Linked DNA regions of Homo sapiens: all the other regions are linked to region 6. The links are contacts of gene promoters, found by promoter capture Hi-C in blood cells and fetal thymus (Javierre and others, 2016). All regions are on one chromosome and are shown on one strand. The core of a region is centred on a gene start or on the middle of the fragment in contact, and the rest is flanking DNA. Distances in the headings are between cores, read along the strand shown. Region 1 has its middle 81 kb from the start of LINC00609. Region 2 has its middle 110 kb from the start of LINC00609. Region 3 overlaps SLC25A21 (solute carrier family 25 member 21). Region 4 has its middle 53 kb from the start of BRMS1L. Region 5 has its middle 120 kb from the start of BRMS1L. Region 6 holds the start of NKX2-8 (NK2 homeobox 8). Region 7 has its middle 90 kb from the start of BRMS1L.

What was found. The method cuts DNA at HindIII sites, captures the fragments that hold promoters and counts their contacts. A CHiCAGO score of 5 or more calls a contact.
Region 1: a fragment that was not itself captured here is called in contact with the fragment with the promoter of NKX2-8 in region 6 in 1 of 17 cell types (M1 macrophages); the score reaches 6.2 in M1 macrophages.
Region 2: a contact is called between a fragment that was not itself captured here and the fragment with the promoter of NKX2-8 in region 6, in 2 of 17 cell types (M2 macrophages and M1 macrophages). The highest score is 8.4, in M2 macrophages.
Region 3: a contact is called between a fragment that was not itself captured here and the fragment with the promoter of NKX2-8 in region 6, in 2 of 17 cell types (endothelial precursors and erythroblasts). The highest score is 10.7, in endothelial precursors.
Region 4: a fragment that was not itself captured here is called in contact with the fragment with the promoter of NKX2-8 in region 6 in 1 of 17 cell types (M2 macrophages); the score reaches 7.5 in M2 macrophages.
Region 5: a contact is called between a fragment that was not itself captured here and the fragment with the promoter of NKX2-8 in region 6, in 1 of 17 cell types (M1 macrophages). The highest score is 5.6, in M1 macrophages.
Region 7: a fragment that was not itself captured here is called in contact with the fragment with the promoter of NKX2-8 in region 6 in 1 of 17 cell types (M1 macrophages); the score reaches 5.4 in M1 macrophages.

Annotation. Positions count from the first base shown.
Region 1 is chr14:35,987,390-35,991,276 of GRCh38, reverse strand. No RefSeq gene overlaps it. Among named protein-coding and RNA genes, the nearest start is that of LINC00609, 81 kb to the left of the region's middle. The HindIII fragment of the contact is 1,669 bases long and covers 1,008-2,676 here.
Region 2 is chr14:35,963,071-35,966,809 of GRCh38, reverse strand. No RefSeq gene overlaps it. Among named protein-coding and RNA genes, the nearest start is that of LINC00609, 110 kb to the left of the region's middle. The HindIII fragment of the contact is 2,349 bases long and covers 444-2,792 here.
Region 3 is chr14:37,148,659-37,152,604 of GRCh38, reverse strand. The region is part of intron 1 of SLC25A21 (solute carrier family 25 member 21); the gene reads left to right. Among named protein-coding and RNA genes, the nearest start is that of SLC25A21-AS1, 21 kb to the left of the region's middle. The HindIII fragment of the contact is 312 bases long and covers 1,986-2,297 here.
Region 4 is chr14:35,877,182-35,880,881 of GRCh38, reverse strand. No RefSeq gene overlaps it. Among named protein-coding and RNA genes, the nearest start is that of BRMS1L, 53 kb to the right of the region's middle. The HindIII fragment of the contact is 8,468 bases long and covers 1-3,700 here.
Region 5 is chr14:35,941,484-35,945,750 of GRCh38, reverse strand. No RefSeq gene overlaps it. Among named protein-coding and RNA genes, the nearest start is that of BRMS1L, 120 kb to the right of the region's middle. The HindIII fragment of the contact is 3,104 bases long and covers 1-3,034 here.
Region 6 is chr14:36,581,051-36,584,763 of GRCh38, reverse strand. NKX2-8 (NK2 homeobox 8) reads left to right here and starts at 2,150. Exons shown (of 2, transcript NM_014360.4): 1 at 2,150-2,531; 2 at 3,300-3,713. The coding sequence starts at 2,375. RefSeq lists enhancers at 2,759-3,569, 3,570-3,713. The HindIII fragment of the contact is 11,395 bases long and covers 10-3,713 here.
Region 7 is chr14:35,914,912-35,918,594 of GRCh38, reverse strand. No RefSeq gene overlaps it. Among named protein-coding and RNA genes, the nearest start is that of BRMS1L, 90 kb to the right of the region's middle. The HindIII fragment of the contact is 1,824 bases long and covers 766-2,589 here.

The sequences.
Region 1 (3,887 bases), core at 593-3,092, 590 kb after region 6:
AGCCCAGGGTCCAGGGTGCAGCTTCTACCAAAGGACAAAGAAATTATCATGCCATTTTACTGCCTCAAATATTATGTGCTTGTTCAGGATATGATGCCATTGTCCAGATTTTACTCTAAGGAAGTTCTTTACCAAACTGTATCTAATATAGGATATTCCTCATCAAAAACTACAACTTCCTACCAGACCACAGTGATTCTCCAATTTGACCACCTTGTGCCCAGGAACAAAGCAGAGAGACTTAAAGCAGTCAAGATGTTCACTCTACACACAGCCCTGCCCCACATCTACTCACCATTTTCCCTCACTGATTCACACAGGGTCTCCTCAAACTAGTGCAGGAAATGGCCCCTTCTCTCTCAGAACAAGACCTCGTCTCCCACTTCACAGAGAAGATATGAGTTCCCTCAAGCCTAGTCATACTCATGCACACACACTCACACAGGCATGCACACACACACACATCACACACTGACCACCTCCACACACATCTTTATCGCTTTCCCCCATCTCAGAGGAAACATCCTCTCCCCTCAGGCCATGCTTTTTTTTTTTTTTTTTTGAGATGGAACCTCACTCCGTCACCCAGGCTAGAGTGCAGTGGCACAATCTCAGCCCACTGCCTCCGGCTTCAAGCGATTCTCCTGCCTCCCAGCCTCCAGAGTACCTGAGACTACAGGCGTGCACCACCATGCACTGGTAATTTTTGTATTTTTAGTAGAGACGGGGTTTCACCATGTTGCCCAGGCTGGTCTTGAACTCCTGGCCTCAAGTGATCTGCCCGCCTCAGCCTCCCAAAGTGCTGGGATTACAGGTGTGAGCCACCACGCCTGGCCTAGACCATGCTTTTGTTCTTCCCCTCCTTCAGGATCCCATCAAACCCTCCCTTAACATTGATCTTTTCCATTCTACTGGTTCCTTTCCCACTGCCCACCAATATATTCAGGTTCCTGACCCCCAGGCTACTTTCAGCCACCAGTTGATTTCCTTCCCTTTACTGCCAAGCTTCCTGGGAAAAAAACCCTACATGAGCACTTTGTCCTTAACCCTGCCCTTACACCAGCCCTCCATCCTTAATCTCTGTTCAAACCACTCAAGTTGAATCCTGCTTCCTGTCAGAGCCCTGAAGGTACACATTCTAAATCTCACTTTTCTCATCCTTAAAACCAGGATAACAATACAGCATTACTTAGGATGAGGGCTAAGCCATTGTAACAAACAGACCCCACATTAGAGTGGCTTACCACAGAGGCTTATGCTATTCTTGCTGTAACACTCCTCAAATGAGAGGAACAGTCATCAGGGAAGCCATGCTCCATGTGATCACTCAGAGAACCAGGATTTTTCTACGCTGTTGGTTCATAAAATTTTAATGTGCGTGTGAATCATCCAGCTCTTGTTAAAAATGCAGGTTCTGATTTGATGTCTGGGATAGGGCTTGAGAGGCCGCATTTTTTTTGAGATGGAGTGTTGCTCTGTCACCCAGGCTGGAGTGCAGTGGTGCTATCTCAGCTCACTGCAACCTCCACCTCCCGGGTTCAAGTGATTCTCCCGCCTCAGCCTCCCGAGTAGCTGGGACTACAGGCATGCACCACCACGCCTGGCTAATTTTTGTATATTTTGGTACAGACAGGGTTTTGCTATGTCAGCCAGGCTTGTCTTGAACTCCTGACCTTAAGCAATCCACCCACCTCAGCCTCCCAAAGTGCTCAGTTTACAGGCATGAGCCACCACGCCTGGCAAGAGTCTGCATTTCTAACAAGCTCCCAGGTGATGCCTGGCTGCCCGGATATGAAGCATACTCTGAGTAGGAGGAGCCTAGGGTGTTGCCCTTTCCTGCTTGATCAAAGCAGAGTCATAGGCACCTCTATATTCCAGCTCTCCAGAAGGGAAAGACGGCATGTGGACGAGTGCATGCTCAGTGTCCTAAGGCCCAGACTTGGGAGACCCCATCTGCTCACATGCCGCTGGCAAGCATGAGTCATATGGCCACACCTAGAGGCAAACAAGAGTGGGGACCTAGACATTATTTTTATCTATCGTGGAATTTTCTGGGAGGCACTGAGAACAAAGAGCAGATGTATTTGAGTGTGGAACACTCGCCAAAACTAAGACAATTATTGGAACACTGTCAGCCATTCCAGCTGCTGTGGAGTGAAATGGCGTAGAATGGTGATGGCTGGAGCTGACAGTGGTTGGGCAGCGGGGTAGAAGAGTGAAGGTGTGGCTTGAAGCACCGCACTATGACCCTAGGAAGGCAAGTACATCTCTAATAGAAATGACAGCCTGGGACACCACGCATTCAGAAGTAGATACAGGAGTCATTTGCCCTTGCTGGTCTATTTTTGGCTCTCGTGGAGGTCCAAATGTTTCTGTATAATTCTGGATATTGTTCAAGGTGCAGGAACCCTGCAAGACTTGGTCCTATGCTGCCCGAGCTGAAGGCAACCAGAGTATCGCTATGGCATTTCCCTAAATGCTAGCTGTACGAAAGCGCATGTTCTGCAGCAAGACTTTCTAAGTTTAAATCCCAGTTCTGCCACTTCCCGTGTGACCTTAGGCAACTTACTTCATCTCTCTGTGCCTCAGTTTTGTCATCTGTAAAATAAGGATATCTACATTACTCGTGTCATAAGATAATTTGAAGATTGAGAGTAGTGATGTATTTTAGAAGCTTATACAATACCTGATACACAGTAAGTCTTAAATATCATGCTATGTTTTATCTCAACTTTATTTTCTTAAACTGCTTTAACCACACAATGGGTTCTCTTTGTTTGCTGCCTAGACAAAGCTGATTTATCAAGACAGGAGAACTGCAATACAAAAGAGTTTAGGCCGGACACGGTGGCTCACACCTGTAATCCCAGCACTTAGGGAGGCTGAGGTGAGTGGATCACTTGAGGTCAGAAGTTAGAGACCAGCCTGGCCAACATGGTGAAACCCCATCTCTACTAAAAATACAAAAATAAGCTGGGTGTGGTGGCTGGCAGGCGCCTGTAATCCCAGCTACTTGGGAGGCTGAGGCAGGAGAATCGCTTGAACCTGGCAGACAGAACAAGACTCCAGCCTGGGCGACAGAGTGAGACTCTGTCTCAAAACAAACAGACAAAAAAAAAAAAAAAAATAGAGAAAGATTTAATTCACGCAGAGTCGGCTGTAAGGGAGAATGGAGTTTTATTATTACACAAATCAGTTTCCCCCAAAACTCAGAGATTGGGATTTTTAAGGATAATTTGGTGGGTAGGGGGGTTGGAAAGTGGGGAGTGCTGATTGGTCAGGTCAGAGATGAAATTATAGGGAGCCAAAGCTGTCCTCTTGTGCTGAGTCAGTTCCTGAGTGGGGGCCATAAGACCACATGAGCCAGTTTATCGATCTGAGTGGTGCCAGCTGACCCACTGAGTACAAGGTCTGCAAAATATCTCAAGCCCTAATCTTAGGTTTTACAATAGTGATGTTATTCCCAGGAGCAATTTGGGGAGGTTCAGAATCTTGCAGCCTCCAGCTGCATGACTCCTAAACCATAATTTCAAATTTTGTGGCTAATTTGTTAATCCTGCAAAGGCTGTCTAGTCCCTAGGCAGGAAGAGGATTTGTTTGGGGAAAGGGATGTTATTGTCAGCTGTAACTTTGTTTCAAAGGTAAACTATAAACTAAGTTCCTCCAAAAGTTATTTCACCTACACCCAGGAAAGAACAAGCGCAGCCTGAAGGTCAGAAGCAAGATGGAGTCATTTAAGTCGGATCTCTTTCACTGTAATAATGTTCTGAGTTATAATTTTTGCAAAGGTGAATTCACTTCTGACTTCCTCAGACCTGTCCAAAATTCATTTCTCACCATTCTAGCTCCTTTTTTCCTCAGTCGCCCAAAGTTGAAGAACGAGACAG
Region 2 (3,739 bases), core at 369-2,868, 620 kb after region 6:
AGGCTGAAAGTCCAATATTAGGAAGCCAGCATGGTCAATTTCTAGTGAGGGCTCCCTTCCTAGCTTATAGACAGCCGCCTTCTTGATGTAACCTCACATTGCCTTTTCTTCATGTCTGCAAGTGAAGAGAAAGCAAGCTCTGGTGTCCTACTCTTCAAGGACACTAATCCTATCAGATCAGGGCCCTACCCTTATGACCTCATTTAGTCATAATTACTTCCATAAAGGCCATATGTCCATAAAGTCACATTGGGGGTTAGTCACATGATTTTTGAGGGATACGATTTAGTCTATAGCATTCCATTTGCTCTAATAGTCATATTTTCTGGCAGTAATTTTATGTAGCTCTGAATATTTTGAAAATAAGCACTTACAGAGGGGTAAGTTCTTCACCTCCTCTCTGAATAACATTTTACCAATAGCTTCATACAACAAAATAAGCTTCATAAAAACTAAACATGATATGAAGACACAAGTGGCAAGATATACATATGTACATGTGGGTGAGGAGGGAGGGAATAGAGAGGTTCAAAGTTCGTTCACTTCTGAATCAACTGAAACCTTGTGTTTCACCTTCAGATTTGGGTCCTAAAATACCCAGTATCATGAAACATAGCTAGGTTGGTAGGTAGATAGGTAGCTATGTTGAAACCATTAAAAATCGATGACCAAGTAGGTATACATGAAAGAATTGGATTCAGAATAAACAATGCAAGCTGAAATTAGAACATTTTGTTTTATGGTACCTTTATGTAAAGTATGCTTGTGTTTAAATATGGAATCAGGAAACTATTTTGGGTCAGAATTTAAAATAATCCCATTCTTTTGTATTTCTGATTAACACATTTGTCTTTGAGGTTCTTCACCTGAAGTACAAAACTAAACAGAAAAATATATAAATCAAATATTTTGGCCCTTCCCTGGTCTTCCTACCACAGGCTGATACTATTCAGAAAGCATGTCTTTTTCCTCACAACATCTGAAGTACAATATAGAAATTCATCCTTTTCTATATTGAAACTGGGCCTTTCCCCAAGATTTTTATTTTGCATTTAACAAAATAACAGCAAATATCAGGTATTAGAAGGATCGAAACAACCTCTTCTATTCTGTTGTCCTTAGAACACCATCTTTTATTCATAGCTTCTCTTGTGGTGCTGGGAGGCAGATTCTGTTGCTATAGCAACGCCCTGAATATCCTTGGGGATAGCTTACAGTTTTACTTTTTTTTTGAACAACAAAGAGCCATTGATACTACATGTTGCCAAAGGTTATAAAAGTTGAATTCTAAAATGAAAATATTTCTTCTATAGAAGTGGTACACCATATGTGTCCCACAAATTCAAAGAGATATGTAAGGATATGACCTTTGTGTGAACACTGATGAATCTAGTATAATACTGTTTGGATTCAATGGATTATTCACAGCAGAAGTAGTTGAAGTGTATGCCTTGTTTTCTAAGACCACTGTGGGGGATAAGGGGTTTATTCCCAGTATCTGTAAAGATCCAGGAGCAAGAAAAGATAAATAAATCAAAGGTCCCATCGCTTACATTTTGTTTGTTACTTTGTAATCACCTTCCCATCCCCACCCCCATCAAAATGAACTGCTATATCAAAATCCAATTACACTTTGACAGTAAATAGATCCTCAAAGAGTGGTTGCTACTGAATCCTTGCTCCTCAGAATAGATATTAAATGTACGAGATTCTCAAGTGCTCTGAAATCTGTATTCCTTGCTTCATTTTAACTGGATTCTCTTCATCTGTGAAAAAAAATTCCTTAGCTATCTGCTTTGTAAAACTAGGGAAAAAATTTCAAGTATTTCTTTCAAGATAAGTCAGCTCATCGCCCTAGAAACCTGAGGGGATGCACTGAGAAACACAAACGAAGAGTTGGAGGCACCACAGATTCATTTCCTGGAAAAACAGCCGTAAGAGCTTATAGAGGCTCAGGAGATGGGAATCTGGACTTTTCTCAATAATGGGAGAGAGTGATACATGCTGAAAATGTAGATAATACATTAGGATTGATCCCAATCTCCTCCACTCACCACAGCCTGCGCGAATTCACTGGAGTTAGAAGACCCTCCCAGCAGATCAAGAAAAACCCATGACCCAAGGCCATTCATTCATTCTTTCTTTCTTTTGTCAATATACTAAGTGCATGTTATGTCCCAAGCCAATCAAAGGCTTTCCAAATGCTTATTAAATGCCTGATTGTACTCTTGAAGAGTTAGTCTCTAATTCAATAAAGCCTTCGTTGGCACAGGTTCTATAGGTATAATATAGAGAACTTTATTAAAAATAACTGGTTTAGAGGGTAATCATAACTAGTAACAACAAACACACAGATTGTGTTTCTAAATACCGTTTCCCACTAAAAGGAACCAGGGTTACTTGGAGAAATGGCTGATTCCAAAAATGGTTGGAATAGGGAAAATACAAGGCAACCTGGAATATCTTGTTGTTCAAGAAAGCAAGAAAGTGCTTACATACTAATAGAGGCATGTCAAAAGGACACAAGAACTAATTTGAAGGAGCTCCCACTGTCCATATCTTGGACAATTTGATCATTAAAATGAATAATGACAGAGATAGATTATCACATTAAATAAAAAATAAATGCATGAGTCCATAGCAATACTTAGAAGAAAACAGGGCGGCAGAGATGGGGAGAAAAGAGAAGGAGGAGGAGGTAAGGGAAAAATAAAAGAAAGCTCCGCTTTACAGAAGAATACCAACTGTTATGGGCTGAATTACATCCCCACCAACATTTGTAGGTTAAAGCTTTAACCCCCAATGTGACTGTATTTGGAAAGAGGATCTTTAGGGAGGTAATTAAGGTTAAACGAGGCCCTAAGGATTGGGCCCTAATTCAACAGAACTGGTATCTTATAAGAAGAACACACCAAAGGGCTCTCTCATGCTTTCTCTCTCTCTCTCTCTCTCTCTCTCTACCCCCTTCTCTCCCCCCTCTCTCCCTCTCTCCCTCTTCCCCCCCATGCATATACACAGAGAAGAGATCCTGTGAGGACAAAGTGAGAAGGTGGCATCTATAAACCAGGAAGAGAGGCCACGCCAGAAACCAACCCTGGCAGCACATTGATCTTGACTTTCTAGCCTCCAGAACTATGAGAAAATAAATTTCCATTTACGCCACCCAGATTGTGGTGTTTCGTTTGGCAGCCCAAGCAGACTAATACACCAACTAAAAAATATTGAGGAAATGATAGAGTTAGAAAATCACCATTTTTCAACCACCAATGTAAAAATGATCAGTGGATACCAAAACCACTAGGTCAAAGATTATGGTTTTAAAATATGACCACATAGGTTAACTTTACAATAGGGAAATTAGGCATGACATTACCTTCCTAACCAAGCAATCAAACTTAGCATCATCAACAGTAGGACAGCCTGGTGTGTGCCTCCTGGTGGATCCAATAAGAAATACACATGACCTATCCAATAGTCTTGCAAAGAATGTTTAACCTGAGCCTAACTGTGAGAAAACAATCAGACAAATCCCCAAAGAGGAGACATTTTTGCAAGGCAACTGGCCTAGATCATTAAAACAGAGTCAATATCATAAATAAAAGAAGTCGTAGACCCCTTCTAGACTAAAAGTTTCTAAACATTACAACCACAGAATTAACCAACTTTCATAGGATCTTGGGTCAACAAAAGCACCTAAATAGATATATTGGGTATAACTGGGGAAATTTTTAATGGGCTG
Region 3 (3,946 bases), core at 892-3,391, 570 kb before region 6:
ACTTCTCTGCGCTCTGCAGGCTCACATTTTTAAGGTATATAGCAGAAATAAAATGAAATTAACTGGGCATGGTGGCAGGCGCCTGTAGTCCCAGCTAGTCAGGAGGCTGAAGCAGGAGAATTGCTTGAACCCGGAGCAGAGGTTGCAGTGAGCTGAGATTGTGCCACTGCACTTCAGTCTGGGTGAGAGAGCGAGACTCTGTCAAAAAAAAAAAAAAATTGAAATAAAATGAAATTGAGAGTCAGTGGACGCTAATGGTTTTCAAAGATGTTTCAGAGATATATTTTGAAACTAATATCAGACCTTCAAACAAATTATCATTTTCTCATTTCTATTTTGAGTTCAGTCTTTTCATTCATTCTTTTTGTCATCTTTAGAAGTCACAATGAACTTCCTGGGATATTTGTTTGGGTTGGGTAGATCCTTCCTAACTATCATAGTCAATAAGTATGATAAGATTTTAAAAAGTAAGATAAATCTTATCTTTTGAGTGCTAACATTTACTGAATGCTTACTATGTGCAAAGCATCTTACTTTGCTTAAATAATCTCTATTATTATTATTATTTTTGAGATGGGGTTTCTCTCTGTCGCCCACACTGGAGTGCAGTGAAGTGACCTCGGCTCACTGCAAACCCCTTCTCCTGGGTTCAAGCGTCTCTCTTGCCTCAGCCTCCAAAGTAGCTGGGATTACAGGCACATGCCACCCTGCCCAGCTAATATTTGTATTTTTAGTAGAGACAGGGTTTCACTATGTTGGCCAGGCTCGTCTTGAACTCCTGACCTCAAGTGATCTGCCCGCCTTGGCCTCCCAAAGTGCTGGATTCCAGGCATGAGCCAATTTGTAATTTCTTGAAGATGAGGAAAGTGAAGCTCAGAGAAATTAAATATCTTGTTCAAGGCTGATGACAGACACAGACTCAAACTCTGCTCTTTGCTTTCAAAGCTTGAGCTCTCATCCATTACTCCACCCTGCCTCTTAGTGTGCAGAATGAGAAATCAGGTAAGCAGCCCCTTCAAGTATTGCCCCCATAAGTCTTCTTTTTCTCTCTGGTTATGTTAAATACCACAGCTTTTTCTTGAACTTGAGTGTTAATGAACAAACAGGGTCTGCCCTTGTACAAAAGTCCATTTCTTGTTTTTGCAGATTTTTAAATGCCAGCCATAGCTTAAGTATGAAATTCTCCATATTAACCAGCAGTGCCTCTGTTGGCATTAATGCGGCATCTTTTTTTCTGCCAGATGCTACAGGCAATTGGTCAGGAAGTGGGCCAAGCCTCCACCCTCACGTATTGTTAACTGAATTCGCACACAACTAATAAGATACTGGTGTGACTCAGTAGAGTGAGAGCAACCCAAGAGTGGACAGGAGGGGCCTGTCTGAAAAAGGAGGGAATCTTAAGTCGCATGTAATTTAATGTCTGTAAAAACTAGAATAGACTACTGTAGGGAGAACGTATAGCCTCCTCTTTGGAGAAAGAAGAATGAAATTCAATAGAACTCGATAGAATTGGATGACACCTAAAATAGAATCATGGCCCAAAGTAATTTTGCAGAATGAAGAGAAAGAGAGAGAGAGAGAGAGAACCTACCAATGTGCTAATATTTCTTGAAAAGTTACCAATATTTATCGACCATCAAGTATGCCAAATCAGAATAATACAATTGTGAAAAACATTAGTTTTTGTTCTGATTGCTTGAGGCTTCTATTGCTGTTATTATCACTATCATTTTGGGGCATGATTGTAGAGGCAGGTTAAAGCACTTTGGAGTAAATTGCAAGATCCTCTCCAGAGATCTGAGAATGAGCAGCATTATTTTGGAGCGTCCGCCTAGGACAGCACATTTGATTGGCTAGTTTATCACAGTGGACATTTATATCTGAAACTAAGATTACTATTCTGTACTTGTGCAGACCTATAGATGGCGCTGTCTTCCTATAATTTTGGTGATTTGCTTTTTATTTTCTTTTTAAAAGGAAAAGCTTTCTGCAGATATAGTTAGATCTAGAAGTGTGTTAACTTCTGATTACATTCCACTATTGCAAAGCATCTTTGCCTTGCATAGATCATAGAGAATTCTACACTTGAAAAATACAGACTGTACTTTGGGAATTAATTTTTCTTTTAATTGTGATTCATACCTGTGTATGTATGGAAAAATGGGTTTATGTATATGAGTAAGAAAGAGGGATGGAAGAAACTGTTTTTATTTGTATAATATTTATTTTCTTTATGTTGGTTCTTGCCGTAAAATTTGAATTAGAGTCCTGGATAAAATAGAAATCATTGATAAGCTTAGGATAAATGTCATAATTTCTTGTAGATCTTAGAGATTACCTGAAACTCCTAGATTCCATAATTTTGTTTTTCAAAGTTATTAGGGCTAGGGTATGTATTATAGTCATAATAAATTATAAACATCTCTAAACAGGAGCTACAGTGCCAAACACGTAGGTTTTATTTATGTATCTGGGACTCAAATGCCATTTCTTGTTTTAATTCAGTGGCCTTTAACATAAGAAATTGGGTATATGTATGAATAATAATTTTTCTTGAATGTAAGTTCTAAACAGGATTTTTTTCCTTCAACCCTACTCCTTCTGTAAGGAAAAAGTTTTAAGTATGATACATATTATGTTGTGGATTTGGTTTATGAATGGGAAATGCCAGAAGTGCTTGCTTCTGTAATCAAACTTTAACCACAAGATGGCAGTATAACTTTCCCATGTCTTTAAAAAATTTTTAAATAATTACTAAATTAAATTATTTTTTCTCTCTTAATGAGAAATGTATACAGCTAAGGGATTTCAAGATAGTTCTAAGGAGGATGAATATTGAAGGTACTGTACTAAATATAAGAAATATTAAAGACTATTTAGTGATTATTTATTTATTTTTTGAGTCTTGCTCTGTGAGTCAGCCTGAGTCTGTGCCCAGGCTGGAGTTCAGTAGTGCTGTCTCAGCTCACTGCAACCTCTGCCTCCCGGTTTAAGCGATTCTGCTGCCTCAGCTTCCTGAGTAGCTGGGACTACAGGCGCCCACCACCATGCCCAGCTAATTTTTGTATTTTTAGTAGAGATGGGGTTTCAGCTTCCCAAAGTGCTGGGATTGCAGGTGTGAGCCACCGTGGCCGGCCCTAGCGGATTTTTTTTTTGATGGAGCAGTTTTTAGTTGCCCTAAGAAAACATTTAATTTATATTCTGTAAAGTTGAAATAGGAATATGATATGAAAATGGTAAGCAACTTTGTTTTACAGAGCAATATAGTTTCATTAGGTTTGCCTCATAAAGCATCAAGAAAGTGACAGTAGATTTTCTGTTTCTTTCATGTGTTCATGGACATCTGCATTGGTGTATACCTTGTATTTTGAGCTCATAGCTGGAGATTAGAAGTTCAACAAGAAGCAAGGAAGGGAAGAAAAAGAGAAAAGTAGAGGCACTGGCATCTAAGTTAAAAAAAAACAGTGGTGATAATGATGTCTATGTGATTCTTGTTGGCTTCATATCTTCCATAGTCAAAAAATGGATCATCTAGGCAGGCACAGATAGCTCACGCCTGTAATTCCAGCATTTAGGGAGGCCAAAGTGGGGAGAATTGCTTGAGCCCTGGAGGTTGAGGCTATTGTGAGCCATCATTTGTTCATTCAATTTGGATATTTAAATAGCCGTCATCCAGCATTATATATACTGATAATGTTTTCATTGGTATGCTTACATAATATGTAGTATTCCATTTCACTCTGCAAAGAGGCTTTTCACAAGCATCTATTTTACTTTTCCTTGATTTTTTGTTATTAGTTTAAAAGAGTGCATTGGATCTATTTCTTGTTTTTTAAGTCTTATGAAGAGTGAGCCCCTCTAAGGAAGAGACCAAGTCATGTTTATTTTGTATCTCCAGGCCTACCACAGTGCTTTGAATATAGTAGCTGCTCAATAAATGTATATT
Region 4 (3,700 bases), core at 588-3,087, 700 kb after region 6:
CCTATATATTGAGGTCATTAAAACATTACTATAACTTTGGATATAATTCAGTGGACCAATGATAATGTTTACTCTCTAAGAAAAGAAACTATGAAACAATCTAGTTCTAGATCTTTATATAAAAGATCAACAAAGTAACTCATTTTCCAGTATGAATATTAACTTGCTATTTGTAAATTGTCTATATTAAATTATCAGTTAAGCCTTCCCTGATTAATAATATTCCAGAGATTATATTGATTATAGTAGATAATTAGGTAAAAACACAACCATACAAAATTCTATTTTAAGAATTTTGAGGACAAAATTGGGAGAAATGTGGGGCAAAAATCTACAACATGGTTATTATTTAATAGATAAATATAAACTATGCAGTTAGTCCTCCATATCTGTAGGTTTCACATCAGCTAGGTTCAACCAACCACAGATGGAAAATATTCAGAAAAAAAGAATAGTTTCATCTGTACTGAACATGTACAGTCCTTTTTTTCTTGTCATTATTTCCTAAACAATACAGTATAACAAGTATTTACACAACATCATATTGAGAATTACAAGTAATCTAGAGATGAATTAAAGGATGATGTGCATAGGTTATATGCAAATAACCATATTATATAAGGGACTTGAGCATCTGTAGATTTTGGTATTTGCAGGGATCCTGGAACCAATCCCCTGAGGATACTGATGGATGATTATATTTACTGCCACATCCCTTCAGAGCACTTTGATCTGTATTACAAGCTCTCATGTTCCCTTTTGTTTAATTACATACTTTGTTTCTACAGTAACTCTAAAGCATATAACCAGTTGCAATGTCCCTAAGCCCTTTACATGGTGAATTTTTTTCAGCTAATAAAGAGTAATAATAATATAATCCTTGTGTAGAGCTTTATCTTCTTCCTAAACATCTCTTAATTAGTATGCAACAGGATTAAATACAACTGAAGTCTCACTATACCATTTTGAATAATTAGGAGGAAAAATACAAATTCTAACCTAGGCACCTAAGTCTTGTAGGAATTTACTGCCACCTTCAGGTTTTAATGAAAATGCACTGGGACTGTAGCTTTTACATTTCCAGATGATAGTCCCTGGTTAATATAGTAGAAATATTAATATTATTTTCTGGCTTTAGAAGCAAAGTACTACTATCTAATTTAGATTGCAGTACAAAATGCATTCAGGAAATGCCTTTCGCCTTGTCTTTTTGTCTTTTGTGATTCTTTCAATAATGTGTAATTGAAAATTAAAGTCTGTTTTTTATCAGCCATTATAATTATATACTAGAAGTTCCCAGATCTGTGTCCAGAATGTACTTTGTATCATTGTCTAAATCTAGTTAAAAAAAAAAAACTATTACAGCAAACTGTTTTAAATGTTCCACGTGTCAATGCCTTCCAGCCAAAGGCCACCAGGAACACACCGGCAGTTGCACAAGTTGGGTTTCTTGCTCATTTCAGGGAGGGAGAAACCACACCATAGGGAACTGTGGATGTCTGAGTAAGAAGGTGTTAAAAGGGACTTATAGGATTTGGGCTTTTATTGGGAGATTTTTGGTAGGGTTTGAGGAAGTGGGCTTTGCTCTGGATAAAATGCTGTCAGGAAGTGGGGGCAATCCCATAATTTAGTATCTTAATGAGTTTTACTTATAAAGCAGGTGGAATGAAGTGAGGCTAATGCTATAATTGGTAAAGAAGCAGAAGTCATTCACATTAGCCAGAATAGGGGAATGTTCCACATTTTTTGTGGTTTGCAGACTGACTTTGTTTTTGTCTATATTTAGACAAGATGTTGTTGGGGTGGGCGTTGACCCCACTTCCTCACGGTCACAGAGTGGCCGTGATGTTGGTGTTCCGTGAGATTGTTTATGTTCAACAGAACACCAAGGCCTATCACGCAGTTCCTAGTTGTCAGGGACTGCTTTTCTCTTTCTCATGCATATATTTGTAATTCCATGAATACCTTTTTTTTTTAATTCCTTGACTTTGTGCTGAAATTATAAAAGTTTGTGATGATTTTCAAAGTGGATATCAACAGAATATGAAGCTCTAAGGATGCATCATAAATGTTGCAAGGGTGTGAAATCCAGCTCAAAATCGTTTGGAAAAAGGGGAATTTATTAGAAGACCCACATAACACAAGGAAGACCGGAGTGCAGATGGACTATGAGTCAGCTCATAGCACGAGGCTAAATGCCAAGAAACTCCCCATCCACCTCTCATCTCCTCAGCTGTCTCCACAGGGCAGGAAATGTCATTGCCTATAATTTCCAAACTTTATTGTCCCAGTTCCAACATAAGAGGGAGACTGATACTTTTTCCTGCAGTTATAGTTTAAGAGATCCAAGAGAAGGGTTTTAATTGGGGCAGGCTGAGTTACACGTTCACCTAGTGCACTCAACTAGGACCAAGAATTGTGCAGTATTAGAGAAAGAGGTGTTCTCATTAGAACCACACAGTCAGATCAGGGAAGAAGCATTTCCTGGAAAAAGTAGAATTGAAGTTCTGGGTAAGCAAAAGATTTGAAAAAAAGATTTAAAGCTGGGAGGAAAAAAAAATCAGTTCTGGGTTCTAGAAATGTAATATTTGCTATAAAGAGAAAAATTAAAATAAAATAAAAAGAGAGAGACCCAGTTAGGCCATCACAATTATTTCAGTAAAATATACCAGAGGCTTGAACTAGGGCAGCACCAGTGGGAATAGAGAAAAGAGAATGCTTTCAGTTAGAAATGTTTCAGAGTTAGAATCTACAGGACTAGCTAATTCCACAGATGTGAGGAGAAGTCAAATTCATCAACAGCCCTTACATAGGATTTATCATGTAACATGCCCTGTTCTACACACTTGACATATATTCATTAAGTCCTCACCACAACCCTATGAAGTATTATTTCCATTTTCAGATGGGGAAATTGAGGCACAAAAAGGTTAAAAAGTTACCCAAGGTTGACGGGGTGCAGTGGCTCATGCCTGTAATTCCAGCACCTTGGGAGGCCGAGGCAGGTGGATCACCAGAAGTCAGGAGTTCGAGACCAGCCCGGACAACATGGTGAAACCCTGTTTCTACTAAAAATACAAAAATTAGCCAGGCGTGGTGGTGCGCACCTGTAATCCTAGCTACTTGGGGGGCTGAGGCAGGAGAATCACTTGAACCCAGGAGGTGGAGGTTGCAGTGAGCCGAGATCACACCATTGAACTCCAGCCTGGGCAACAAGAGCGAAACTCTGTCTCAAAAAAAGAAAAAGAAAAAAAAAAGAAGTTACCCAAGGTCATACAGCCGATAAATGGTAGAGTTCACATCCAGCTAATCTGGCTCCAAAATTCATGAGTTTAGCTACCTGCCACAACCTCTCCAAGGTCTGAATTTATGTGAGTCATTGTGTGTATCAAGGGTGGAAGCACAAATAGAGTACATTCCAGACTGGGAGAGGAATGTGCACAGGAGATAATATTTGGTTTTCTTTATATTAAGTTGTAAATGTGTTAAGAGTAACAGATGGAAATGCCCAATGGGCAACTTGAATATATAACTCGGGTAAGGGTAGAGGCTTAAATTTAGAATTTGTTAGGACCTAAATGGTAGCTGAAGCCAATGAGTGAATGAAATCTTCTAAAAGGAGTAGAATGATGGCCTAACATGCAGCCCAGAGAAAAACAAAGAGAAGGTAGAAGAATGATCTTCAATAATGACCTAGAAA
Region 5 (4,267 bases), core at 233-2,732, 640 kb after region 6:
CAGAGCATCCTGCAGGAAAATGGAATCCCATAATATGAAGGGTTGGACCATCACCTCATCATTCTTTTTTGTAATTATTGTAACATGTTGCATTTTATGGTGTCCAGTTAAATAGATTTATGAATATTACCTAGTTTTAAGCAAATAACTGTCATAAAATAGATAAATTAAAAGATCTCTTCCAAGAAACACCACACTGAAGATAATTCTAATAGAGTTAGCACAAGAGAAACTGAGAAAAAGGCAAAACTGATCCTTCTATTCCTTGTATAATATCTTTGCCAGATAAAAATACTAACAATTCATTGACCACAAATATGTGTGTGTGTGTGTGTGTCTGTGTGTGTATGTATGTGTATATATAGTGTATATATATATATATATATATATATATATATACACACACACATATAAATATGAAGAAGCCTATTTAAAATATGGATTTATATCTAGGCTATGAAAACCTTACAAAAATTTACTAAATTTGATAAAGATTAAAAAGTCTCTTTTGCAGGATTTTTATTCAAAAGTACAAATTAAAAATACCTGTTCTTTCTGCCTTAGGAAGCATGGTCAACAACATTCTGAGGGCGGTGTGGTGACCATCTCACAGGAGGCAGTGGCCCTGCCCACATTCCTTTTGTCCAGATTGTCCCTATGCCAGACAACTGCATCTTGCCGCAACACCTGTGTTCTCCACCTGAGGGCTCTCTCTGGGGCCGCAGATAGGTAGGCCGGAAGTGCTTGGTTATTGGTGTCTAGCCAATGACAAACATATAAGAGCTGAGGGATGTATTGCCTTCCATGTGACACAACTCAGAATCTGTACTGACTCCAGAGGGTCCCAGGGGGAGCTGCCCACAGCAGAAAGCTGCTTGAGAACATTCCCTGCGGTAGCTTCATTTCCTGCCTTTTCTCACTGCCGCCATCCCTTCCTTGGATCTCTTCCTCCCAAATCTATGATTAATTCTTACACTCGAATCCATGCCTCAGGATCTGCTTCTTTGGGAACCCAACCTAAAACAGTGACTAAAAGGTATTAGAAAGAAGGAGGAGGTGAAACAGAGCTCAACATTCAAAGAAATACATATTACAATTTTTGCTAAATAGCTGGATCAAATTATAAATATTTCTAACAAGTATCTGTTCTTTATGTTTGTTAGACTCTGTGTCAATAATAAAATACTTGAAGAGCAACTTTTTTGTGATCCAATAAAATAAAATGTAAGCATATATTCTCATCACTATCTATTAAAACACTATGTTAAGTAAATACTGAGTATAAAAACTAACTAAAAAGGAGAAAAAAGAGACCCTAGGATATGGTGACAAAGTTAGCACCATAGTGAAATTCATCCCCCACATCATTACAGGCAAGACATGCATGAAAAAACATTGACACCAATGTTCTCACTTATAAGTGGGAGCTGAACAGTGAGAACACATGGACACAGGAGAGGAACAACACACCCGGGAGGCGGAGGTTGCAGTAAGCCAAGATCACACCATTGCTCTCCAGCCTGGACAACAGGGTGAGACTGCGTCAAAAAAAAAAAAAGGAAAGTATATTAGTATATTCTAGAGGAAGAGTAGATAGCCATGCAAGTTTGGGAACAGATGAGTTGGGAAACTACCTTGACAGAGAATAACATTTAGGAGAAAAAGCTAATGTATCTGCTGTATCTGAGATGCTTGTGGGAAATAAGTATTGATGTCAGAAGGCTGGGCTTACAAATATAAAGTTGAGCATTATTGGCTTATATAACACTTTATTACTTTATCAATGCAGCTTAAAAGCAGATTATTTTCCTTTTTTTGTGGTGGGGGGTAAGTCAGTTTTACATCCGATTAATTCACACAGCTTAAACTCTTAAATTTTTTTCCCATGTGATATTGTTAAGGCATTTCTCTCTATATTCTGTTTTTGCCATTGAGTTTTTGGACCTAAGGACAAGACTTTACCCTTGCACCTATCTGATTTCATCTTGCTAAAGTCAACCCAACGATTCACTTTTCAAGCTCTCCTGGGATGATGATCACCATCAAGCACATCAGCCATAGCTTCTGGCTTTATTTTGTAACTTTCTAGCTTATGTTAATTGAAAAGTTTTGTGTTATTTCTTTTCGCCTCTCTTGGTTCTCAGGCACATGCTATGAAATTGATTGGCTCATGGCACCCTATCATCATCAGTTTATTGTTTTATTTTATTTTATTTCATTTATTTTATTGAGACAGAGTCTCACTCTGTTGCCCAGGCTAGAGTGCAGTGGCGCGATCTTGGCTCGCTGCAACCTCTGCCTCCTGGGTTCAAGCAATTCTCCTGCCTTAGCCTCCCGCGTAGCTGGAATTACAGGCACGTGCCACCACATCCAACTAATTTTTGCATTTTTAGTAGAGACGAGGTTTCGCCATGTTGGCCAGGCTGGTCTCGAACCCCTGACCTCAGGTGATCCACCCGCCTCGGCCTCCCAAAGTGCTGGGATCACAGGCAGGAGCCACCGCGCCTGGGCCTATTTTATTTTTACTTTTTGTTGTTGTTGTTGTTCCCCCTTATACCACATTCCCAATATTGTTTCTTCCCCTTACGTTTTCTCCCACCATATTGGAACTACATTAAAAAACAAATAAATAATAAGGGCTGTACAATGTTAACTTTTCCATCTATGAGAATGCCAGCCAGGCCCAGTGGCTCACACCTGTAATCCCAGCTCTTTAGGAGACCGAGGCGGGGGGATTGCTTGAGCCCAGGAGTTTGAGGTTACAGTGAGCAATGATCGTTCCACTGCACTCCAGCTTGGATGACAGAGTGAGAGGCAGTCTCCAAAAAAAAACAAAGAGGGGAGAAAGAGAGAGAGAGAGAGAGAGAGAGAGCCGTATCTCTCCATTTATTCAGATTCATTCATTCAACAAATATTTCTTCAGTGCCTACCATGTTCCAAACTCTAAGAGCTTCTTTATATCTTTTTATCAAGTTTTAATATTTTTCCATGAGTATTGTCTGCATTTCAGGTCACTTTCTAGATTCTTCAAGCTTTGTTGCTCTAATAAAAGCCATCATATTTTCCATTGCATATTTTAATTGGTTGGTGAAAGTGTAGAACTCTTCTTAATATTTTTGTTGTTATTATTGGATTCTTCTAGCAATCTCACTGAACTCCTTCATTAATTTTAATAGCCTGTCACTTGTCTTAAGTTTTCTGTGAAAATCAAATGTCAAATCGTCTAAGAATAATGACAATACTGTCTCTTACCTTCCAGTCCTTGCACTTTTTCTATATTTTCTTGCCTTGCTGCATTGGCAGAGAAAATTACTTTTGCAAGGATTTACAAACCACTCTCTCAATAATTGATAATGAGACTACCAACCTACAGTTTACAAATTAGCTTCTCTTCTCTTTTTGGAAAAAAAAAAAACGACTATTGAATTTTCGAAGAGCTCTCGTTTTCATCAATATCTTTTTTAAAAAATTCTCAGTTCAAACATTTTCAGAATTTTTGTATGCATTTCCTGAGGCAATTTAAAATGCTAAATGCCATGTTTTGAGTTGTCTTATAGGGAGATTCAGGTTAAGGCCTAGATGATGCTGGAGAAAGGTAAGCAATGAGATTTTATTTGAATCTCAAGACTTTATGTAATAGTAGCTGAAATGTAGGTTATATATCTTTATTTCATTTTTAGTATAGATTTACTCCCATCACATTTACTATCGTCTTCAGAGTTGACCCTTAAAATAATAATAAATGGAAAAGCATGCGATGCATCATAGGGGTTACAGGAGCTAACAGATTTTAGTAAGACACCATGTAATATTATATGAAGATGAAGAACCCTGAAGCCCAAGTTCATTTAGTATGTCGTGGTTAATTCAGAGTAAAATCAAGAGTTAGTACCTGATTTATACCAGTTACATAAAGAAAGAGATGTCTTAACTTCACTGTATGATCACTTTGTCACTTTTCAAAAGCACTTAATTCCTGTTCAATTGAAAATGTTTCAGGAACAAACCTATCTGGTCATTTTATTGGCATTGCACATTTGCATATGAACAAATTTTTGCAAATTACTTATATGGACTTCTCTTCATTATGCTGATTCTTTTTTTTTTTTGAAATAGGGTCTCTGTTGCCCAGGCTAGAGTACAGTGGCACAATCATGGCTCACTACAGCCTCAGCCTCCTGGACTTAAGCAATCCTCCCACCTCAGCCTCCCAAGGAGCTGGGACTACAGGGACGAGTCACCACGCCAGGCTAATTTTTTATTTTTT
Region 6 (3,713 bases), core at 901-3,400:
AAGGAAGCTTAGAGAAATGAGGTGGTTAGAGATAGGTAGGGGCAGAGCGAGGATGCGAACCGATTTCCAGGCCAGAGCTCCTTCTACCTTACACAATCTCATAGTTCAAGACCGAATTTGGGAATCAGTCTTAACACTTGCTTCCCCAGGACGGTCTTTGTCAGTGCCTCAGCTTCTCACTAGGGAGGTGGGCTGGCAGAGATTGCCAGGCCTCGGGCTCTGGCCAGAGATAAGTCCACGAGGCCTGGAGCCAGTCTGCGACCTGCCCACTCTCTAGACGCTGGGGGCTCGGGAGCTGAGGAGCGGTGCGCGGCGGGTTTCCAGACTCCGCTGTCCCCTGCCCACTCCAGGCTCCCGCCCCGGCCCCGTCTGCAGAGAGGACAGCCAAGTCATTTCAGTTTAATCTTATTTAAAAAGACATAACTAATAAATCTATTGCCAGGGCCGCGGAAAGACGGCCAGCAGAGTCGATCGTGCTCCCAATCCCATTGAACCCCATTGAAAACCATGACAACACCGGACAAGCTCCGATTTATCCCGGCGCGTTAAAGCGCATTGTGAGCAGACGTCAATCATGCATTATTCCGGACTGAACAAATGCAAAATCTTGACTGGAACAAATGCTTCCAACAGGTCCGGGGCGTCGAGCTCCATTTCCCCTTTGTCCGCGGCCTAGCAGTTGGCCTGTATTGGGGTTGCCTCCGCCCGACCACCCAGCGCGCGGTGCAGCTCCGGGCACCTCGGGCACGCTTGATAGGGAGGCTGCTGGGGAGGGTGCGCGGGGCTTGACAGGGCCGCCGCCGCCGCATCCGAGCCAGGTTCGAGTTCAGCCCGGGAGGAGCCAGGACTTCTGGTGCAGCCACCCAAGTACAGAGCCCTTCGCTACAATTTAGCAACTAAATATCCAAACTACTAGCTTCAGTAGGAGAGGCCTCTGAGAGGGCGTTCCTCTGTAGATTGAAGCGCGGCCAGAGCTAGGCCATGGCCCAACAAAATGTATCCACGGCGGCCTGTTCCCTGCGCCTCCTACATTGATCATTTTCTAGGGTGGAACTGTGGAAACTAGAAGATCCCAGAGAAACCCATGGCCGGTGGTATTTTCTGCCGGGTAGGCCCTGTCCTAATTCTCCCGATCGGTCCATTCCCGGACCAAGGCGGGCAGCCTCGTCAGGGTCTGCCATGCTGCGAGCGGGGAGCGTAGGCCATGGGCAGGCTCCTGGGCAAAGACCAAAGCCCAGGCAGTGAGAGTGCCGTTGAGGCTATGGGGCCAAGGCGCACAGGCGGCACCAGTTCATCTGGCGACTCCAAGGAGGCCTCAAAGCCCTCACAGGATGCCCTGAGAAGCGCCCCCGCCCAGGGGCTCTAAAGCGGGCCTGGACCCAAATTTGTGGAGCTCGGCCTCCGAGCTCCGAGATCGGCAGCGGCCGGGCGAAGCTGGGCCAAAGAGACAGGCACTGTAGACCTAAGTAGCTTGGCTACAAGCCTCTTCTGTTTTGCCGGCCTGTGGAGACGTGGAGCTGGGGCTCCGAATGTTGTCCCAGCCCTTCCTCAGCACCTCTGAGGCTGTTAGGGGGATGTATGGTGTGATCCGAGGCTCCCAGCGGCCGTTGAAACCCCTGGGCCAATGCTGGCAGGGCCAGGCTAATCTTTACGCCCTCCTGAAACTTGTCATCCTGAATCTTAGAGGGGCCCAACCAAAAAGAGAAAGGGAGCGCGCCAGAGTTTAACGCCGCTTTGTAAATCACTTTCTGGATAATTGCGGGAAACTACCACTCCAGCAAACAAGCTCGAAGAATAAAGCAAACAGGGAATAAATTCCTGGGTGCTAATAAACCCACCCCTGCCACCCCCACCCTTCCCGGCGCTCCCGCGGGGCCTGGCCTCAAGTCAGCCCAGGAGGAGGAGGAGGAAGCTGGGGCTGGGTCAGGCGGGTGGTGGCCACCGCTCGCCACCCAAGATGTTATTCACTGGTAACAATCCCCATTATCTGTCCCCACTTTGGGCTAATCAGACAGAATCGCTAATGCCAAATGCTGCTTCCTGCAGCCTCTGGGAGGTAACTGGGCGCCAAGGGGCGGGGTGCGGGGCGGGGTGCGGGGCGGGGCGGGGGCGGAGGTGGCACCTTCCGGGCTCGCCCCGGCTCTGGTCCAGTGCTCATTCAGGTACTTAACACCCTGGAGACCCGGACCTCGGCTTTCAAAGCGGCCTGGGTGGGAAGAGCTGTTTATATAAACAGAGATTCCGCTGTAAATGCGCTAATATCCCGGCTGCCAGCGCATGGCGAGCGCCTCCCACGCCCATCCGTAGGAGCGGCGTCCCGGCCGCCCCTCCGTTCCCAGCCTGCCCTGCCCCCGCCTCCTTCCCCTCCTCGGCCATGGCCACCTCTGGACGCCTGAGCTTCACCGTGCGCAGCCTTCTAGATTTACCCGAGCAGGACGCGCAACACCTGCCGAGGCGGGAGCCAGAACCACGCGCCCCCCAGCCCGACCCCTGCGCCGCCTGGCTGGATTCGGAGCGCGGCCACTACCCTTGTAAGTGCGTGGTGGATTGCGGTGCGGGGTGGGAGGTAGGAGGCGTGGGGCAGCAGAATCAAGGGCCCAGCCCACGAGGGGCCGGAAAGCCGAAATCCCAGCCCAGAGTCTAGATTTCCTCAGTCTTGGAAACGGGAGCCCTGTCCTCGAACCCCTAACGCATTCATCCCGGTCGGCACATCCTAAGAGCAGATCCCTGCCTGGCACTGGTGCTCCGAGATTTGGGGTTTCTGTGTCTGACGATTTCTAGAGGTCGGAATAATTGAAATTTAAAACGCGCCGCCACCTGCCGCCCCCACCCCACCCCCCGCCCCCTCTCCATGCCTGAAAACACGGCCACGATCTCCAGGCCTCCGTCTGGGATGGCCAGTGTTGGCGAGTTTACCCCCACCCCGTTCCCACTCAGGGCTCCGCAAACCTCGGCACACTGCAGTGCAGTCGACCTGGAGGAGGCCGGCGCTGGTGACCCAGCTTGTGATAAACTGGTCGGCCAGCGCAACTACCGGTGCGGACATGTTAAGAGGGCCCCGGGGTGGGTTTTTTCGGGGCACGATCTCAGGCCCGCTGATGACCGCTGTGGTATGAATGAGGTCACCGCATTCGGAGAGGTGGATGTCCAGATGTGGACTCAGGAAATGGCCTCATCCCGAAAGTCTCGGGCTAGTGGGCGTGCCCTCTGGCCAGTGCCTCCACGCCCGCGCCAGAAGGGCAGCAGGCCCTCGTAGGGTCCGGCGTCTCACCCACCCGTGTCTCCTTTGCTGTCCCTAGCCTCGGACGAGAGCAGCCTGGAGACCAGCCCGCCAGACTCGTCGCAGCGGCCGTCCGCTAGGCCCGCGTCTCCGGGCTCGGACGCCGAGAAAAGGAAGAAGCGGCGGGTGCTATTCTCCAAGGCGCAGACGCTGGAGTTGGAGCGGCGCTTCCGGCAGCAGCGGTACCTGTCTGCGCCCGAGCGCGAGCAGCTGGCGAGCCTGCTTCGCCTCACGCCCACGCAGGTCAAGATCTGGTTCCAGAATCATCGCTACAAGCTGAAGCGCGCTCGCGCTCCAGGGGCGGCGGAGTCGCCTGACCTGGCAGCATCCGCCGAGCTGCACGCCGCGCCCGGCCTGCTGCGTCGCGTGGTGGTGCCGGTGCTTGTTCGCGACGGGCAGCCGTGCGGCGGCGGCGGCGGTGGCGAGGTGGGAA
Region 7 (3,683 bases), core at 428-2,927, 670 kb after region 6:
ACCAATGTTAGCACTTGGGAGTGGGGTAGGGAATTGGCTTTATTTAGGAATATTTATTACCTTGATAAAATTCTGGGGACCACTGTGACCATTTAAAGCCATATTATAAACACAAGTACTCTGAGTTCCTCAGAAGAAAGGGGCTTTAAAAGCCCAATATCATTCTATAATCCTGGTAGAATTTAAAATATAGAATTTAGTTGGATTAACAGATAGCATTTTCTTTACATAAAATTATGAAACCAGATTAAGGTAAATAGCCTATCATATGTCCTTGAGTGTACATATAGAAACATTTCTATTACTGATTTGTGAACATTTCTTCTCCATGGAGCAGCTTTAATATATATCTTTTTTCTTCCTTTATTATGAAATCTTAGATTATCGATAATAATGTATAATCATTCTGAAGATGATGTTATATTGACTACACTTAACTAAGAGATGAGAAGGGTCCTTTAAAGGTCTATCTACAGCCTTCAATAGAAAGTGTTTGCTTTGTGAAATAACCTACATATGCATCGCTGAACTTTCTTCTTCTTTTTCTGGGCTATTGCTTTTTCCTTTAGTGGCACAAAACATTTTAAAATTGTATTTTCTATTAGTATTTTTTCTGGGGAAAAGACGGCAATGTGTGTATGGCATGTAAAAATGCTATGTATCAAAATCAATGATAAAAAGAAAATCTTAAAGGTAGCCAGAGAAGAAAAAAACATGTATGAATTTCCTATCACTGCCATAGAGATTATCTCAAACATAGAAGCTTAAAACACAAATTTATTATCTTACAATTCTCTAAGTCAGAAGAAGGACCTGGGTCTCACTGTGCTAAAATCAAGGTGTGAGCAGTGATTCAAAGGAATCAAGGCTTCATTCTTTCCTGGACACTCTAGGAAAGAAAGTGTTTCCCTGCTCTTTCCAATTTCTAGAAGCCACCTGGATTCCTTCCTCCATCTTCAAAACCAACAGTAAGGCATCTCTCTGATTCTGCTTCCATAGTCACATCTTTTTTCCTGACTCTCTTTTGTCTGTCTCTTCCATTAAGGACTCTTGTAATTACACTGGACCCAGCCAGACAATCCAGGATAATCTCCCTATTTTAAGGTAATGTAATTAGCAACCTTAATTCTATCTTCAGTCTTAGTTACTTTTTGCCGTGTAACCCAACCTTTTCACAGGTTCCAGGAATTAGGATGTGCGCATCTTTGGCAGGCCATTATTCCACCTAGCATAGTCTGTCTTCTGGCCCCTAAATTTACCTATCTGTCTTGAATGCAAAATACATTCACCCCATCCCCAGATCTCCAAAGATCTCATCCCTTACAGCATCAATGCAAAGTCAAAAATCTGAACTATTCACTAACTCAAAAGTCTCAAATCTTATCATCTAAACCAGGCATGGATAATTGTTTTGCCTACCACATGCATGTTATATATAAAGGAACAAAGATAACAATGACCGTAGATTTCCCATCTGAAACAATGTAAGTGAGAAAGCAGAGAGGAAACATCTTTCAAGCAGTGAAAAAAATTTTTAATTTTGAATTCTGTACTCAGCAAGAATATATTTATTTTATTCAGTGAACCCCAAAGAAGGCAGAAAAAGTTGAAAAAGGGAAAAGAACAGATGAAGATATAAAAAATAGCCATATGATAGATCTAAACCTAACCATATCAGTGATGAGATTAAATGCAAATAGTCTGAATACCCTAATTGTAAGGCACAGCTGATCAGATTGGATTAAAAAAAAGCAAAATCCAATTATATGCTGTTTACAAGAGACACACTTTAAATGTAAAGACACAAACAGGTAAAAAGTAACAGAATAGAAAAAGATATTCCATGCTAATATTAATTAAACAAAAACTAGAATAGTTATTAATAGCAAACAAAGCAGATTTCAAAATGACATTAGCAGGGATGAAGAACGTGTTATCATAATGAAAAAGCAGTCAATTCATCATAAGCAAAAAACAATCCAAAACATTTGGGCACCTAATAACAGAGATTCAAAATACACAAACCACAAATGTACAGAATAGACAAATCCACAATTACAGAGATTTAAAAACCTTTTTTTAATGACTGATAGGAGAACTAGACAGAAAATCAGCAATGGTATAAAATACTTGAACAACGCTAGTAACCAACTTGATCTAATTGACCTTTTTAGAAAACTCCAACAGCAGCAGAATGCACATTTTTTTCCACATGCACACAATACAAGATAGACCATATTTTGGGGACATGAAATATGTCTCTGTAAGTTTAAAGGTATTTATACATAAACATGTGCATTCTCCAGTCACAATGGAATTAAATTAGAAATCAATAAGCAAAAGATCTTTGGAAAATTCTTAAATATTTGGAAACTGAAAAGTGCATTTCTAAGCTCTAAAGAACCCATGGGTTAAAGAAGAAATCAAAAGAAAAATTAGAAAGCATTTTGAACTGAATTGAAATGAAAACACAACACATCAAAACTTGTAGAATACTGCTACTATACTAAGCAGTACTTAGTGGGAAATTTAAAGCACTAAATGACCATACTAGGAAAAAAACAAGGCCTCAAATAAATGACATAAGCTTACACCTTAGGAAACTAGAAAAAGAGAGCAAATGATACATAAAGTAAACAGAAGAAAAAAAAAACAAAGAGCAGAGTAGAAATCAATGAAATAGAAAAAAAGGTAGAGAAAAATCAACGAAACAAAATTATGATTCTTTAAAGAGATCAATTAAATTGATAAACCTCTAGCCAGAGTGACCAAGAAGAAAAAGAGAGAAGACATAAATTACCAAAATCAGGCATGACAGAAAATCACAATAGGTTCTACAGCTATTGAAAGGATAATAGAGGATTATTATGAACAAATCAAATCAACAATATATAAAAAGGATGCATTGTGAAACAACAGAGCTTATCTCAGAGATATGAGATTGGTTTAACATTTGAAAATCAATTAATAAAAATCAGCATATTAAAAAACTAAAAAAGAAAAATTATATATTCATCTCAATAGATGCATAAACAGCATTGGACAAAACCCAACATCCATTCCTGGTAAAAACTCTCAGCAAGAGTTAGAAGAATTGCTTGAACCCGGGAAGCGGAGGTTGCAGTGAGCCAAGACCATTGCACTCCAGCCTGGGCAATAAGAGCGAAACTGTCTCAAAACCAAAAACCAAACCAAACCAAAACAAAACCAACAAAACTCTCAGCAAGCTAGAAATAGGAAAGAACTTCCTTAACCTGATAACGTGCATCTGTGAAAAATCTAGAGTTAGCATCATGCTTGATGGGCAAAGATACAATGCACTTTCCCTAAGGTCAGGAAAAAGGCAAGGATGTTTCTTTTTCACTGTTTCTATTCAACATTGTATTGGAGGCACTAGCCAGTACAATCAGGCAAGATGTGGAAAATCTGAAGGATTTTACAAAAATGATATGAAATATGAATTTACCAATGTTGCAGAATGTAAGATAGTCAACTGTCTTATAATTATATATTTTATATGTTATGAAGTTAACTCTTAAACAACATGGGTTTGAACTGCACAGGTCCACTTCTATGTGGATTTTCTTCCTCCTCTGCCACTCCTGAAACAGGAAGACTAACCTCTCTTCCATTTCCTTCTCAGTCCACTCAGTGTGAAGGCAGTGAGGCTGAAGACTTTTATG